4 separate regions of the Homo sapiens genome follow, and regions 2, 3 and 4 are each linked to region 1. The links are contacts of gene promoters, found by promoter capture Hi-C in human tissues and cell types (Jung and others, 2019). All regions are on one chromosome and are shown on one strand. Each heading gives the region's core, a stretch centred on a gene start or on the middle of the fragment in contact. The rest is flanking DNA. Distances are from core to core; before and after follow the strand shown. Region 1 holds the start of DNAL1 (dynein axonemal light chain 1). Region 2 overlaps PSEN1 (presenilin 1). Region 3 overlaps PSEN1 (presenilin 1). Region 4 overlaps NUMB (NUMB endocytic adaptor protein).

What was found. The method cuts DNA at HindIII sites, captures the fragments that hold promoters and counts their contacts. A contact is called where the count stands out against the background at its distance.
Region 2: a fragment that was not itself captured here is called in contact with the fragment with the promoter of DNAL1 in region 1 in 2 of the 25 tissues and cell types used here (IMR-90 fibroblasts and lymphoblastoid cells).
Region 3: a contact is called between a fragment that was not itself captured here and the fragment with the promoter of DNAL1 in region 1, in 1 of the 25 tissues and cell types used here (lymphoblastoid cells).
Region 4: a fragment that was not itself captured here is called in contact with the fragment with the promoter of DNAL1 in region 1 in 1 of the 25 tissues and cell types used here (dorsolateral prefrontal cortex).

Annotation. Positions count from the first base shown.
Region 1 is chr14:73,642,957-73,647,026 of GRCh38, reverse strand. It overlaps DNAL1 (dynein axonemal light chain 1), which reads right to left and starts at 2,041. Exons shown (of 8, transcript NM_031427.4): 1 at 1,985-2,041. The coding sequence starts at 1,987. The HindIII fragment of the contact is 10,054 bases long and covers 1-3,288 here.
Region 2 is chr14:73,140,236-73,144,305 of GRCh38, reverse strand. All of the region lies in intron 1 of PSEN1 (presenilin 1), which reads right to left. Among named protein-coding and RNA genes, the nearest start is that of PSEN1, 5.8 kb to the right of the region's middle. The HindIII fragment of the contact is 5,314 bases long and covers 1-4,070 here.
Region 3 is chr14:73,219,818-73,223,887 of GRCh38, reverse strand. PSEN1 (presenilin 1) reads right to left here. Exons shown (of 12, transcript NM_000021.4): 12 at 197-4,070. Among named protein-coding and RNA genes, the nearest start is that of PAPLN, 16 kb to the left of the region's middle. RefSeq lists an enhancer at 441-953. The HindIII fragment of the contact is 9,247 bases long and covers 1-4,070 here.
Region 4 is chr14:73,316,287-73,320,356 of GRCh38, reverse strand. It overlaps NUMB (NUMB endocytic adaptor protein), which reads left to right. Exons shown (of 13, transcript NM_001005743.2): 6 at 3,935-3,967. Among named protein-coding and RNA genes, the nearest start is that of PAPLN-AS1, 72 kb to the right of the region's middle. The HindIII fragment of the contact is 4,846 bases long and covers 1-4,070 here.

The DNA.
Region 1 (4,070 bases), core at 792-3,291:
TATCATCATTTGAAGACATTGTCCTGAAGTGGCAGGTCATAAGGGGGAAAAAAAGACACTGAAAGATAAATTTTTTTAAATTGAAATACTATGTGGGTCAATATTTCTGGAGGGACCCAGGTCTGCTAGTTTGCAGACTAAGCCAGTTCTAAATACAGTCATGAGCTGCATAACAAGTTTCAGTTAACAACCAACCACATATAAGACAGTGGTTACATAAGATTGTAATACTGTAACTTTTCTATGTTTGTTTGTTTGTTTATTTGAGACAGGGTCTTGCTCTGTTGCTCAGGCTGGAGTGCAGTGGTGCGATCTCAGCTCACTGCAACCTCCACCTCCCAGGTTCAAGAGATTCTCATGCCTCAGCCTCCTGAGTAGCTGGGATTACAGCCACTCGCCACCATGCCCCGCTAATCTTTGTATTTTTAGTAGAGGCGGAGTTTCACCATGTTGGCCAGGTGGATCTTGAACTCCTGACCTCAGGTGATCTGCCCGCCTCGGCCTCACAAAGTGCTGGGATTACAGGCCTCTGGGATTACAGGTGTGAGCCACCACACCCTGGCCGCTTTTCTATGTTTAAATACACAAATACCTTGTTTCAACTGCCTACAGTATTCAGTATAGTAAAATGCTGTAAAACTTTGTAGCCTAGGAGCAATAGCCTACACCATCTGGTTTTTGTAAGCATATTCTATGATGTTTGCAAGGCAAAACTGCCAATAATGTGTTTGTTAGAATGTATCCCTGTCATCATTAAGTGACTTATAACTGTACTGGTTCTGATTCTCTATTTGAAGATTTTCAACAATCACCATGGTTCATACTTTCATAAATATTTAGGTCTGAGCCTTTCTTCACCTGAATATAAACCTAGGTTCCAGAACTTTTAACTTTCCTTGGCAGTGATTTTCAGCTAACTGCTTGGGGAACAAAGTAAGGAAAGCAGGGGGGAAACTACTTTTTAAAGAGTGGTATTTCATCTTGTTGAGGGCAGGCATGACTTCCTCATCATTTCCATCTCCTGGGCTCAATTTCTGCCCACTTATATAGCACTGGAATCACAAAAAGAAGACAAGTAATTATGCTTCTTCTTCATAAACATCTCTATCCAGTAGGACATCACATACTTTGCTCAATAGCTCTGGCTGGGTCTGCAATCCTTTTCAAACGACTAGTTAGAACTACCAAGTATGTAAGCAAGAGAGTGAACACATCAAGTAAGAGTTGAGGAGCATCTCTAGGTAAAACCATTACTTCATAAAGAGCTCTCATTGGATAGACAGCTGGTAGATTTCAAACCTAAGGCAACAGCATTTCTCAGTGTGGTGGGATGCCCTCCAATTTTATAATCACTTGAGGTGTGTTGTCGAAATGCACATTCCTGAAACCCCCAATCATATTAAAAATTCACAATCTGCATTCCAACAAGCCCATACCTATGCATACTGAAATTTGAGAATCACTGCTCTAATATATCCATCAGAGTGTGCTTTACAGTGTCACCTAATAACTGCCCTCGTAGTCATTCAGAAGGCAACCTGGGTACATCACAGGTTACGAAAACTGCTGCAATCCGTGTTATACAGAACCCTCTGGTAACCAGCCCCTCCCTGCATCTCGACGGGGGGGTCACTAAAATTACTTCTATGTAAAGAGATATCTTTATCTACACTCTCCTTCCCATCACCCTTCCCACTCCAATACGCTCTTTTTAGAGAATTTCCTGCTCTTCGCCCTCCCTTTTCTCCTGTCTGAGTCCCTCCACCTTAACCCAACCTCCGATCCACCCCAGGCCGCCCTCACCACAGACCACCCCCGGCCAGGGCTTCTCTTTCGCCTCGGGCCCCTGACTCCACAGAGCTAGCGTCAGCTACCGGCTCCCTTCCGCTGTTCAAGGACCCCCAGACCCTCAACACTCCACAGTCACCCTTTTCCACTCCCAATCTTCTCTCAGCTTTGGCTACGCGGCCCGAAAGGTACTCACCATTCCGGCGGTTGCTACTGTCACTGCTCTGGTTGCTAGGGCCCGCGGGGTCAGTGCGCGTGCGCACTTCTCGGCGCTCTCGGCGGAAGCCCTATCCCCGGCAGCGGTCCTTTCTCTCCGCCCTCAGGGTGGTGCGAGCGGGGCATTGTGGGACTGCGTGGCGGCCGCCGGGGTCCTCCCGTCCGGCTGTTGCTGGCTGCCCTTTTGCTTCCTTAGGTCTTAACCCCGCACAGGAGTAGTCAGGACCGAAAGCAATTTCAGCTGATCTGTAGTGACTTGTCCGCCTAAAGTTAAAAACCTTAAAACGTCCCCCTAACAACTACCCTTTTCATAAAATAATGTTCTTAATTCCTTTGCCCTAACGATGGCGTTTCCCACCCTTTTCCGGACGAGGGGAGAATAAGCGGCTTGCTGTAATTTCCCTCTCCATCCCATCCCACTGAGAATACCAGAGCCAAACTCCACCCATTTTATGTTTCTTTACCCCGGATCCTCCAGGGAGCCAGAGGCAGCTGAAAGCTCGGTTCCACATTTTAAATATCACAAATTGTTGGTTTTAATCACCAGGGTGTCTTTTTTTCCCCACCTACCAAATGAGCTAAAAATTATTAACAATAATAATAATTCATAGAGTTGCTAGGGGTATGGTGAAGTAGGGACACACAAATACGCTGCTGTTTATAATTGATACAGCCTTTCTGGAAGGCTGTTGGCTGTTCAAAAACTTTTGCACCCTTTGTGATCCAGCAGTTCCACTTCCAGGACTTTATCCTGAGCACAGAGATGTATGTTCAAAGCTTTAATAGAAAAAAAAAAATCAACTCAATTATCAACAAAAGAGAATTGGTGGCCGGGACTGGTGGCTCACGCCTGTAATCCTAGCACTTTAGGAGGCTGAGGAGGGCGGACCACTTGACCACTTGAGCCCAGCCTGGCCAACATGGTGAAACCCCGTCTCTACTAAAAATACAAAAATTAGCCGGGTGTGGTGGCACGCGCCTGTAGTCCCAGCAATTCCGGAGCCTGAGGCACGAGAATTGCTTGAACCCGGGAGGCGGAGGTTGCAGTGAGCCGAGATCGCGCCATTGCACTCCAGTCTGGGCAACAAGAGTGACACTCCGTCTCAAAACAAACAAACAAACAAACAAAAAGAGAGAGAAAATTGGTTAGTAGTATTGAACATCCAATGCAATAATGTACTTACACTAAAAAAGTACAATTGACTTGCTGAAAGGCATCTATTCACATCCAAAGATAGTCATATTTCAAGTAAAAATAGAAGTTACCAAACAAAATAGTTGGTACGATTTTCCTTTAAAATTATACATAGTGGCCTGGTGCAGTTTGTTCATGCCTGTAATCCCAGAAATTTGGGAGGCCAAAGTAAGAGGATCCCTTGAACCCAGGAGTTCAAGACCAGCCTGGGCAACGTAACAAGACCCTGGCTCTGTAAAAAATAAAAATTAGCGAGGCATGGTGGTACAACACCCATAGTCCCAGCTACTGGGGAGACTGAAGCAGGAGGATCATTTGAGGAGTTTGAGGCTTAGGTGAGCTCTAATTGTGCCATTGCACTCCACCCTGGGCAACAGAGCCAGACCCTGTCTCTAAAACAAAAAACAAAGCAAAAAAATGGAAAAGTTATACATAGTACACACACGTATATAAACATATATCTAAAAGGATATTATGAGGGTTTAATGTTTGCTGTGGACTGAGTGGTGGTACACCAAAATTCATATGTAGTGATCTGGTAAGTTTAAGTTCTTTGATACTTTCTGAGATGTCTGGGGGATACCTAAATTTTAAGCTTTAAAACCGGAAGGGTCAATTTCTATGTTTATTTTTTAAAAAACTGTCTATGGGACTATTGGATAGGTTTCAAAATCTTGGTACACTTCACATAAAGAACATTTTGAGTTCCAGATTCTCAAAGGTTAAAAACATTCACACAGAAAATAAAAGAATTATATAACTTGGACCCTTCTTTTGTTCTTTCATATCCTACAAAATGACAAAATAGATTCCAAAACCTGTTCACCAGAGAATGTGTGGGTCTGCTTGCTCTTATTTCAGGCCTGGATAA
Region 2 (4,070 bases), core at 1,049-3,548, 500 kb after region 1:
CACTTTGGGAGGCCAAGGTGGGCAGATCACAAGGTCAGGAGTTCCAGACCAGCCTGGCCAACATGGTGAAACCCGATCTCTACCAAAAAATACAAAAATTAGCCAGGCATGGTGACGTGCACCTGTAGTCCCAGCTACTCGGGAGGCTGAGGCAGGACAATTGCTTGAACCCAGGAGGCAGAGGTTGCAGTCAGCTGAGATTACGCCACTGCATTCCTGCCTGGGTGACAGAGTGAGACTCCATCTCAAAAAAAAAAAAAAAAAAAAAAAGATAAGCTATAATGCAAATCTTTTTTTTTTTTTTTTTTTTTTTTTTTAAGAGACAAGGTCTCACTCTGTCACCCAGGCTGGAGTACAGTGGCAATCATAGCTCACTGCAGCCTTGAACTCCTGGCCTCAGTCGATCCTCCCACCTCAGCCTCCCAAGCAGGTGGGACTACATGGGTGGCTAGTTTTTTATTTAGAGAAAGGGTCTTGCTGTATCGCCCAGGCTGGTCTTGCCTGGCCTCAAGCAACCCTACCACTTCAGTCTCCCAACTAGCCAGGATTACAGGCCTGAGCCACTGCAGCCACTGGTCATTTTAAAAGAAGTAGTTTCCATTTTTACCCTATGCTAACAGGATCTGTTCGGTTATTACAAGAAACCATACAAGCTGGTACAAACTGGTCACACTGGAGCTTTCTCAGACAAATCCCATAAAAATCATCAATAACACAGCAGTCACTTTAGCATTTTCCAATACTATCTTCAAAGTTCTTTTCACATCTATTCTTCCATTTGAGTCTTAAAGAAACCTCATGAGGAAAGGAATCTGTACTGACATGTAAAAAAAAACTCAGAAAAGGTGAAAGATTTTGCCTGCACAGAGTTACAGAGAGAGTGTAAACAATGCCAGTTGCAGAACCCAAGTCTTCTGATGCCCAGCCCAAGTCTTTTCCAGTTCACCCAGAGAAATCTTGTGCCTCCCTTGATGCTTCCAAAGATCACAATGCTACAAGGTGAGCCTCCCTGGGAGAGCTGCTCTTTACAGGGGGCTCGGTAGGAAGCAGAGGCAGGCAACAGGGCTAGGTCTTCAGTCAGGCCTGGTGAACAAACAAGCGCTACTGGTACAAAGAAAGGGGCAGGCAAAGCTAGATTTGATTTCGGTCCAGTATCAGCTGAAAACAATTGAGGATTGCATGGCGGTCAATGACCCCACTGTTCAGGCAGCGTGGCAAAAGACACTAGGAGACTTTTTAACATTCTTAGCCATGAACATTCTTAGCCCTGTGAACAACAAAAACAACAACAGTTACCCAGATCTGAGGATCTTTCATGGGACCCGAATTGAGGAGTAGGTGGGAGTAGGGACAGAATCTACTCTGGTGTTTTTGCTCTCTGGTCACCTGCTGCAAACTGACAGAGCACAACACTTGAATTCACTGACATCCATTTTCTTAATCTCAAGACACTTGCTCAATCAGACAAAAGGAAAAAGAAATCCTTCTCTGATGGGAAACTAGCATTTATCTATTATATACAAAGAGATTTTAAAAGCCCCAGGAGAACTACAAATAATCTCGAAGCTCAGATGTGCTGAACAGAAGTCTAACCAGAAAACCTTCTACTCATCAGCACTTCAGAAATTATCACAGGAGCAATGTTCAGAATCTCACAATAAGTTTATTAAAAATGTAATTCAAGAAAGTACCAACAGAAAAGAATTAATACGTTTTCTTCTCTCACTACATCCCAATGTAACAACAAAACCTCAAACTCCTGCAGAACATGGTTACTTATTGATTCCATTTTCTTTTTTCACTCTCAGACATAAATATAAACAAAATTTCTACTGTGGAAAAACATCTTCAGGGGACTTTTAACCATGATCTCTAGCACAAAGGGCTTGTGGCTTGTTTTAATGTCTCTAAGCTACTTGACTAGTTTCTCTTTCACTGAGAAAACTGCTACAAGTATTTTCTGCTGCATCTGCACTGCAATGCTAAGTTTCAAGTGCCAATGAGCTTGTGATTTATTCTTTATTTTACAAAAGTATTTAATCAGCCTCAGTGTTACTTTGAAAGCTTCTCCCTGGACAGGCGGCCCAACTTCTAATGTTATGAATGGGCTGGAAAAGCCTCTACTTGAGTTTTTAAAGGATCACATCCAATAGTAAATGTAACCGAACTCTAAATTCCAACCTATAATTGAAATTATTATTATTATTGAGATGTAGTTTCTTTTCTTTTTTTTTTTTTTGAGACGGAGTCTCCCTCTGTCGCCCAGGCTGGAGTGCAGTGGCACAATCTCAGCTCACTGCAAGCTCCGCCTCCCAGGTTCAGGCCATTCTCCTGCCTCAGCCTCCCAAGTAGCTGGGACTACAGGTGCCCGCCACCACGCCTGGCTAATTTTTTGTATTTTTAGTAGAGACGGGGTTTCACTGTGTTAGCCAGGATGGTCTCGATCTCCTGACCTCGTGATCTGCCAGCCTCTGCCTCCCAAAGTGCTGGGATTACAGGCGTGAGCCACGGCACCCGGCCAAGATGTAGTTTCACTCTTGTCGCCCAGGCTGGAATGCAATGCCACGATCATGGCTCACTGCAACTTCCACCTCCTGGGTTCAAGCAATTCTCCTGCCTCAGCCTCCTGAGTAGCTAGGATTACAGACGCCCACCACCATGCCCAGCTAATTTTTGTATTTTTAGTAGAGATGGGGGTTTCATTTAGCATGTTGGCCAGGCTGGTCTCGAACTCCTGACCTCAGGTGATCCACCACCTTAGCTGGGATTACAGGCGTGAGCCACTGTGCTCAGCCTATAATTGAAATTAATAAAAAAAATTTTTAAACTAATTTAAAAACTTTAGGAATACATCCTCAAAAGACTCCTCTGGTTTTTAAGAGACTAGGAGCAAATCATTTCTCCAGCCCTATAAAAGGCTTTGTGAAAGCAGCAGACGCTAAAAAGAGCAAGGGTAGTGATACATCCCATTTGGTGATTTTTTTTTTTTCTCCTTCCATCCCACTCCACCTCTGTTAACCATCTGTGGTAGATTAGATTATTATTCAGCCAATATTCACTCCCTCCCCCAGCCTGGCCAAGGGAGGAATACACCTCTCTCCAGTGATGTTATAGGCTTGGCTCTGTAGTTTGCTTGGCTGCATGGTGGTTGCAGTCTACTACCCACTCCTAAGTCTTTGGGCATGATCATGTGACTTGCTTTGGTCAATGCAATCTTAGCAGATGTGGCATAACCAGACATTTGAACTATGCTTATGCAGTTGGCCTTGACTTCTTGTACTTCTGCTGGTGCCTTGAGAAAAGCTTATCATGGATAGCCACTGCCCCTTCAGCCTGGGCCCCAGAATAAGGCATACAAATAAGAACTGCCCTCACCGATCCACACATCTACCTACAAGGAAGCAGAGCCCTGAGTGAGAATACATGCTCTGAACTGCTGAGTTTGGGGGAGGTCTGTAATGTAGAGTTACTATAGCAACTTGTTTTTAAATAATGGTTATGTTGGCTCAGAAAATGCAATAAAAACGAACAAAGACTTAGAATCGCAAGTCCAGAATCCCTTATCTGTAACTTTTAGGACTAAATGTGTTTAGAATTCAGATTTTTTTGGATTTTGTAAAGGTACTATGCAAATGCCAGAAGTTATATAATGCCCCTACAGGGTCTTAGAAGCAGAAAAGCAAACAAATTATTAAGCTATAGTGAAACAAATGAATAGTTTTAAATCACATTAAAAAAAGAAAATAAAGACGATAACTAGGCCAGATTTTGCTGTTAAATTAGTTATAAAAAACCTTGGCCAGGTGCAGTGGCTCGCACCTGTAATCCCAGCACTTTGGGAGGCTGAGGCGGGTGGATCACGAGGTCAGGAGTTCGAGACCAGCCTGGCCAATATGGTGACACCCCACCTCTACTAAAAATACAAAAATTAGCCCAGTGTGGTGGCACACGCCTGTAGTCCCAGCTACTCGGGAGGCTGAGGCAGAAGAATCACTTGAACCTGGGAGGCGGACGTTGCAGTGAGCTGAGATTGTGCCACTGCACTCCAGCCTGGGCGACAGAGGGAGACT
Region 3 (4,070 bases), core at 897-3,396, 420 kb after region 1:
CGGCTCACTGCAACCTCTGCCTCCTGGGTTCAAGCGATTCTCATGCCTCAGCCTTCCGAGTAGCTGGGACTACAGGCGCCCACCACCACGCCTGGCTAATTTTTGTATTCTAAACTGTTTCTTGATAAGTGCTAGACAGTTCTGTGAGTTACAGTTATACATTATGATACTTTCATGTAAAAAACACTAGCACAGCTGGATTCATGCAGTCTTTATTAATCTGACAAATACAGAAAATCTGCAATCAGCTATCAAAATTATATCTTACCAAGAATTTGAAAGGTATTTATAAAAAAGGTGTATTCACAGTCTGTCTGAATTAAGTACAAAGCAGTGTCCACAGAAGCAGAAGGCAGACAACATGTGAGAGTAAATGATCCCACTGAAACCCTCACCCCAGCACCTCCAAGGACACCAAAAACAAGACAGTCCTGTACTTGCTACTATATGCAGCTGACTTTGAAACTGCCTAGTCTCAACAATTACGTATTTCAAAAGGAAAATTGCTTTCTGGGAAATCGTCCCTGCTACACAGACACACAGACCAACTGGCAATGCTGCCACCACATGTCAGGGCTCAGGGTGGACCCAGCACATCCACTAAGAGGCACCCTGCTGCCCAAGGCTGTGGGAGACAGCTTTGATGTTCAAGAAAGGGGTTCATTTCAGCACCAGGGTGCTTTTTTATATGCAAATCTGAGGTGTTTCCCGTTAGAGGAGAGGACTATGCAGATGATCACATGCAGATGTCTCTGAGCTGTGAGCCCGATGACAGCTTTGTTGGTACACTCTGGCCAGCCATTTCACAACGCACTATGAAGAGCTGAAACCTCTGTTTTTAATCTCTTGTGTTGTGGGAATTTAAAGAGGTGAGAAGATCACAAGGATCACTTCTAGGCTCAAACTTATGATTATATGATAGTTTCCAGCCCAAGGGCAAAACCAAATGTCCAATTTTCACGTCTCCTTCCAAATTCAATGTTGGAAGGCAGGTGAGGAGGTGAGGAGAAGGGCAGGTCAAACTGTTCCTTATAGACATAACAGCAAATTTAGAGAAGGAGTACTTTACTGAATGGATTGATTTCTGAATCAAGTCACTTTTATAACACCAATGTATAAGCCCTCAGTAATGGTAACTGTTAAAAGTGGTTATTTGACAAATACCCAATATTTTAGAGAAGTTAAAGAAAGATGGCATATACCAGAAAACAAGAGATTATAACTACATTCTGAGAATTTATCTTATTCATCTTTGCATCCTCAGACTCCAGAACCTACGGGAACACAGAAAACACTGAACAAATTTTTTCATAGTGGTTTCTGAGCTCTTTTTCTTCCAGGGTTAGATCACAAATGATCAAATATACAAAGCCTTGGGGGTTGGGATCAAAGGCTTCCCGCAGTCATCTAACCCTGGGAGACCTTATTTGGTAGTTAAACTTATATTTCACACTCTACAAGTTATATCGAGAATACATACACTGTCTGAGGCCACGTAAATAACAAGTAATAAACATCATCTGTTTGGGCATCTATTGCAAAAGGAGGGTTTTTAAAAGCAGAGAGACTACAGAATGGGAATCCCGGAGTCTGAAAGTAAAAACACTGCCTCTTCAGTTGTTGCTTCTGTAGTAAAATCAACAAATTGCTTACTTATGACTGTTTTCTTCCAAGTTGCTTAGAAAGCTTCTACTTTTTCTAATTGAGAAATTGAGTCATTTGGAGTCAGAGCTGTGATTCTAGGAACACACACGAACCTACTGAGAACCAAAAACAGGAAGGTGAGTCTTTCCTCTCTGAAAAAAAATCTGCAAATCTTCCAAATATGATTGGTATTCCCATAGGCATGTAATGACATTCTGTCCATAAATACCCTTTATTCTGTAGCCCAGTCAGACTCAGACTCTTAGTGGCTACTTTCCTTCCTTACTGTCTTCCATCTTTTTATTAAGCAGATTGGCTTGGCTGGTCATACTCTACTGCTGGTTTTGCCCGACTCTATAACCACCGCCTGTCCCGTGTGAGTGAAGGCACATCCTTATGGAAATTGCTACTGTTCTTTCCAGTGACAATCTATTTTTCATGGTGGAAGACTAGCATTTGGATGTTTTAGGAATGACTGAACTAATTCTAAAAAGAATGTTTGAGGGAAAAGTTCTCTGCCTGAGATGAATGATTTAAAGAAATAAGATGGGCTGTAGTCTCAGCTACTCAGGCTGAGGTGGATTACTTGAGCCCAGGAGTTCAAGTCTAGCCTGGGCAACACAGCAAAATCCTGTCCTTTAAAAAAAAAAAAAGGAAAGATAGGTTCTCTGTACACTGTCTAACAATGTGGCTGAGATGTGGCTCAAACTTGGAGAAAGAGACAGAATAATTGCCATCTTTCTACACAGGACAATCAGTAATACATAGGATGGATTTAAATACACACACCCCACGTACCCTCTTCAGAGAAGAAATGTATCATGAAAGGTGCAACACATTTGGGATCCTTACACAAATAAATTACTCTAGATTAGGGATCCCTCAAGAATGCTTCCAATCACAAATTGCTATTCAGGTGGCTTTGCTGTAGCTGTGCTTTCTCAATGATAATACCCATGCTAGCACATGTCTGAGAGAGGGAATGAATCTTGGAAGAAGGGATTTCATGGAAAAAAATGAATTGAGATGATAGAACCTACTACTTTAAATCCCCCTTTCTTTGCATAGCTCTTATTTTTCCTGTCTGTGACTGCCTAATATAAGCCAATTTTAATTTAAATTCAGATCAGTACTCGCACACTACTCTTGAAGTTAGGTTCTTATAAGAAATATCCTGGGACAGAAAACAAATATTCTAAACACCAAAGACAGCCCCAAACCAGGTCATATCATATCATAGATTGGGAGAGAAAACAGCAGGCAAAAGAAGAAAAAGCTGGCCCCTCCTCAGCCACAGGAGGAAACTAAGTTTCTCATAAACGCTTACGGTCTGATCAGCATAGCTAAGGGCTCTCTGTGGTAAAGAAGGTTATGCCCCACAAGCCTTTGTCCAGAGGTGCCCTGAGCCCACACAGGCTGATGGCTGTTTGTGTGTTTTGCCTGACTGAGCTGCCCAGAGCCTGAACTCCATGGTAACTGCAGCAGGCACCTCCACTGCCCAGTTCACACAAAGGTACATTGAGAGGAAAGGTAACGCGGGCAGAGACCACAAAGCACCCATTTGTGGAGCTGACGAGAATAACCTGAAACTCCTCCTTGACATCATTAGCTCACTGTATCCCCTTCGCTGCTGGAGGCCCCTTCTCTTTCCCCTTGGCAGTTGGTTCTCCTTCTGCCACCAGGTTCTCCCACAGCTCACCAAGTTAAATATGGCTTTCCCCAACTCTTGCTTTGTGTTGATACAACTAGTTCATAATTCATCAACCACCAGCTTTTGGCTATTTGTTCAAATTCTGAGCTACTGTGTGGCAAAAGCAAAAACAAAATACCAGGACAGAAAGTGCTTCAACAGCCATTTTACTCTTCTTTAATTCTACCGTCTTTGGGCATACATCTCATTTGCTGTGGAAGAAGGTCTGACAGCAGGGCTGACAGCACCGATTCATAACACATTCTTTTCATCATACAAAGAGTAAGACCCTAGAATAATGGGACCATCTGCTACCACGACAGAGCTGCCTTACTGGCTGTAGAAAAAGACTGCTTGTGTGGGAGAGAAGAATGAGGACAGAGGAGGCATCTGGGGCAAGTGAGCGTACAAGTATGTCTACAAATTCAGAATTTGGTGGAAAATCCAAATTTGACTTCAACATGATAGAGAATTGATGAGAAATAGCTGTACTGTTTCCAAAATTTACTGAATTTGGAACCTGAGGTTAAAACTTTTAGGATAAAGCAACCTCAGGTTCAGACTGGCCTTGGGAAGAAATGGCAATCACAGACGGTAATGAGTGTCAGTGCTTGAGAAGAAGAATTGCCAAAGGCAATCTACATATTTGACTTGACTCAAAGAGAGGGGAAAACAAGTCTCATTTAAAAAGGATGAGTCTGCAGCAAAAAATCAAAGGGAAGCTGGAACCCCTGCC
Region 4 (4,070 bases), core at 664-3,163, 330 kb after region 1:
ACTTAAACTTTTAAACTTTGAGGGGAAATTGACCATTTCTAGACTTCTTATCAAGAAGTTATTTAAAATTTTTCAGACAAAAACTAGATTTGGAGCAAATGTTATATGTAGTTTTGCACTGGCATGTATTATTAAAACATGAAATTGAAGTTTTGGGTCACTGGAGTAAATTTCCTGTTTCTTATGCTCAGTGAAACATCCCCATTCTTTTTTTGCCCCCCCGCCGAGTCGGAGTCTTGCTCTGTCACCCAGGTTGGAGTGCAGTGGTGTGATCTTGGCTCACTGCAACCTCTGCCTCCCAGGTTCAAGCAATTCTCCTGCCTCAGCCTCCCGAGTAGCTGGGATTACAGGTGCCCGCCACCACACCTGGCTAGTTTTTTTGTATTTTTAGTAGAGACAGAGTTTCACCGTGTTGGCCAGGGTGGTCTTGAATTCATGACCTCGTGATCCACCCACCTCAGTCTCCCAAAGTGCTGGGATTACAGGCATGAGCTGCTGCACCTGGCCTCCCCTTTCTTTTAAATACTCTTTCTAGAGCTATACTGAGAATCTTGCAGAAAATCGGAAGTCTTTAGGATACTGTTCTTCTCATATCATAGTGTGCCACATGTATTCCTGATTTTTGTCTTCTTTTCATATTTTTACTATGCAGAAATTTCTCGTTGCCTTTTGATTTCTCTGAGCAAACATTCATCTAAAAATCATCCACTGGGGATCTACAACCTACTTTGCCAGATACTTATATTGTGCCAAATGCTATGTTTCTGGAGACTTTTTGTTTGTTTTTTTTATAGATTATAAAGCTTCCTTTTAGAGTTTCAAATAAGTGGGAGCAAATATAAGGATGCATAAGCCTGCAGAGGATTAAAGAAGAAATAGGATATCTTTGAAATTAGTTTGAATGCCAGAGTTTAAAATTTTAAAGAATAGCTCAGATGTACCAGTTAAGTAACAAAACAAGCATTTTAAACCTACCATGTGAATGATCTTTGGAAGGCAGCTATGCTCATCACTGTACCACCAACACATCTAGTGAATAATCTTTGAACTAAAAATGTAATATTTCTGGTGCTTTTTATTTATTCATTTTTTTTGGAGTGGAGTTTCGCTCTGTCACCCAGGCTGGAGTGCAGTGGCACGATCTTGGGTCGCTGCAACCTCCGCCTCCCGGGTTCACGCGATTCTCCTGCCTCAGCCTCCAGAGTAGCTGGGATTACAGGCGCCCACCACCACACTCAGCTAATTGTATGAGACGGGGTTTCACCATGTTGGCCAGGCTGATCTCCAACTCCTGACCTTAGGTGATCCACCAGCCTGGGCCTCCCAAAGTGCTGGGATTACAGGCATGAGCCACTGCGCCCAGCCTTCTAGCGCTTTTTAAATTTGTGAACAATTGAGGAAAGAGATAATTTGCAAGTGTTTTTCACCAAAATACTCTCTTACAATTTAGAATTACATTAACTTCAATTGGAAGTCATCTGCATACTTGATATGCTCAAATGAAAAAAATATTATAACTAAACAAGATAGTGTTTTAAAAATATGCTCCTCAGAGCATAAATATGTTAATTTTTTAACTTTCTGGGCATAAAGTTATTGACAGCTATTTTCAACTCATTTACTTTGTCATATAACCTCACTGATTAGCTACTTTGGGACTTAGCTTCTATAGGATAAATGACAGAAATCACTATTGCCCATTGTTACTGCCTTTATGGCATATCAGCTACAGGGTGAGGAATATTGTCATATATCAGCCAATTCCATAAAAAAGTGTATAAGGCCTTTGGTTATCTTGCTTAACTCTAGTCCAAGATGCCCTTCGTTTAAGGTCATTTCTTCCCATTGTTTCTTAAATGTCTCTCCCTCTGTCTTAGTTTTAGACTAGTTTCATTATACTACCAGTTTCTAATATGTTGGTTTTTTATTCACTATTTGATATATTTGTTTTAATATATGTTCTTGTTTTAGCAGGTAAAAGAATCATAACAAATGTTTTTAAAAGAACATTATTATTCTTTAATAACTGTCTTTTTATGCATTTTGCATGCCAACTTTTTTCATTAACATCTTGGGTATTTTATAAAAAGAGGGAAAGCTCAATGTTTAACAGTAGCTTTTCTAGGAGCTAAATTAAATATTAACAATCTCCTTCCTTCACCTTCCCATCCCTCAAGAATGGTGAATATCTTAACTTTGGCCGCATCCTTGAAAGCTTATGGTTATTCATAGTCTAACAAAACTAGGGTCACCAAACTTGGCAGCAGAAATAATCTAGTCTTACTGTGATAACTACCCAATTACTTTATTATTTTTCCAGTTGCAGTTCAAAATGTTTTGTGGAAATATTTTTTGCTGTTTGTGATTTTCAAAGCTTAGAGGGGAAAACAAACTTTCCAGTGTTGGAGAGCACTGAATAGTTTATGAATTGTGTAAAAGAGTCAGATTTCAATGCAATTATCTTTTCCTAGACATTTATCCAACATTAAAAACCTATGATTATAAAAAGTAAAGGCTTAAAGTATATTTCAACCACAGCTAGGAAATGTAAAGTTAAATCTAGCTTGTGTGAGTTCAAACCCATCTAATTTGTGTAAATTCTACAGATTTTAATTGGTGGCCAGTTTTCATAAATGGTGCTTAAAAATTGGTGCTGATAGCATAGATAGTTATGCCTCTGTTATCCAGATAGTTTCAGAATTGTTTCCTTATAAATGTCAATGCAAGTTTCTTTATTTTAAAATAACAGCTTTTAGGTTGGGCGCAGTGGCCCATGTCTGTAATTCCAGCACTTTAGGAGGCTTAGGCAGGTGGATCACTTGAGGTCAGGAGTTCGAGACCAGCCTGGCCAACACGGTGAAACCCTGTCTCTACTAAAAATACAAAAATTAGCTGGATGTGGTGGCGCACACCTGTAGTCCTAGCTACTCGGGAGGCCGAGGCATGAGCATTGCTTGAACCCAGGAGGCAGAGGTTGCAGTGACCTGAGATCGTGCCACTGCACTCCATCCTGAGTGACAGAGTGAGACTCTGACTCAACAAACAAACAAACAAACAAAAACCAAATAATAATAAGCAATAGCTTTTATAAAGAAAACAAAACCCTGTTTCTTAAATTTCAGTTGTGGCCCACAGACATCATTTGGTTCTTAGGATACTTGTTTTCTCAGCTCTTGTATAAACATTAGCCTTGTAACCTTAATAGATAATTTATTCTGTGTCTGGAATAAAACATACATGTTATTTCCTTATGTGTGTTGTGAAATTGATCAGCACACCTGTACATATAGATTGATACTAATGTAAGTAAATGGAAAGCCAATGGTCAAGCTCCCCTTAAGTGGTATGGAGTTTCTAAGTGACATCTTGAACTCACTAAGAAAAAAGTATGACAAGGACCTTTGATGCATACTCATTTAATTTTACGTATTACATTTTTAATGTGATTATGTGGTCATTTGAATGTGGACTTTTTTAAAATTGGTGACTTTCACATAGTTGACCGCCAATTTTAAACTTAAAAAATGTATATGGAACCAGTCTTCTATTTTCTATTCACTATTATAAAATTTAAAATGCAAATCTCACCAAACCAGTATGCCCTATTGTTTTCTCTGCTGCCAAATTTGGAAGATCTCTGTTTTAAATGTAAATAGCGATTACTAAACTAACTGGTTGCTCTGCATGGATACAGGTTCTGATTTCTTCTTACTCTTTCTATGGATTCTTAGGCTATACAGTGTGTTTCCCTGCATTTTCATGCACCCTTCCTTTTTCCCTGTCACTCCTGGTGTGGATAACTCTTTGAAACTCACTCCCACCCCTTCTCCCACTTTTTCCTTTCCCCAATTTCTGTATGTGCTTATTGGTGTGAAACTCTGGGACATTTAGGCCATACAATAATAGCACTCGACTTGTCCCCCTGTTCCTCCAGGAAAGGAAGTTCTTCAAAGGCTTCTTTGGAAAAGTAAGTTTGATGCCACATTCATGCTTGCTTTATAAGGAGTTACACCCCTAGTGTAGCACTGACATATTTTTTAAAACTAGTACAGCTTTGGTTTCTTTATAAT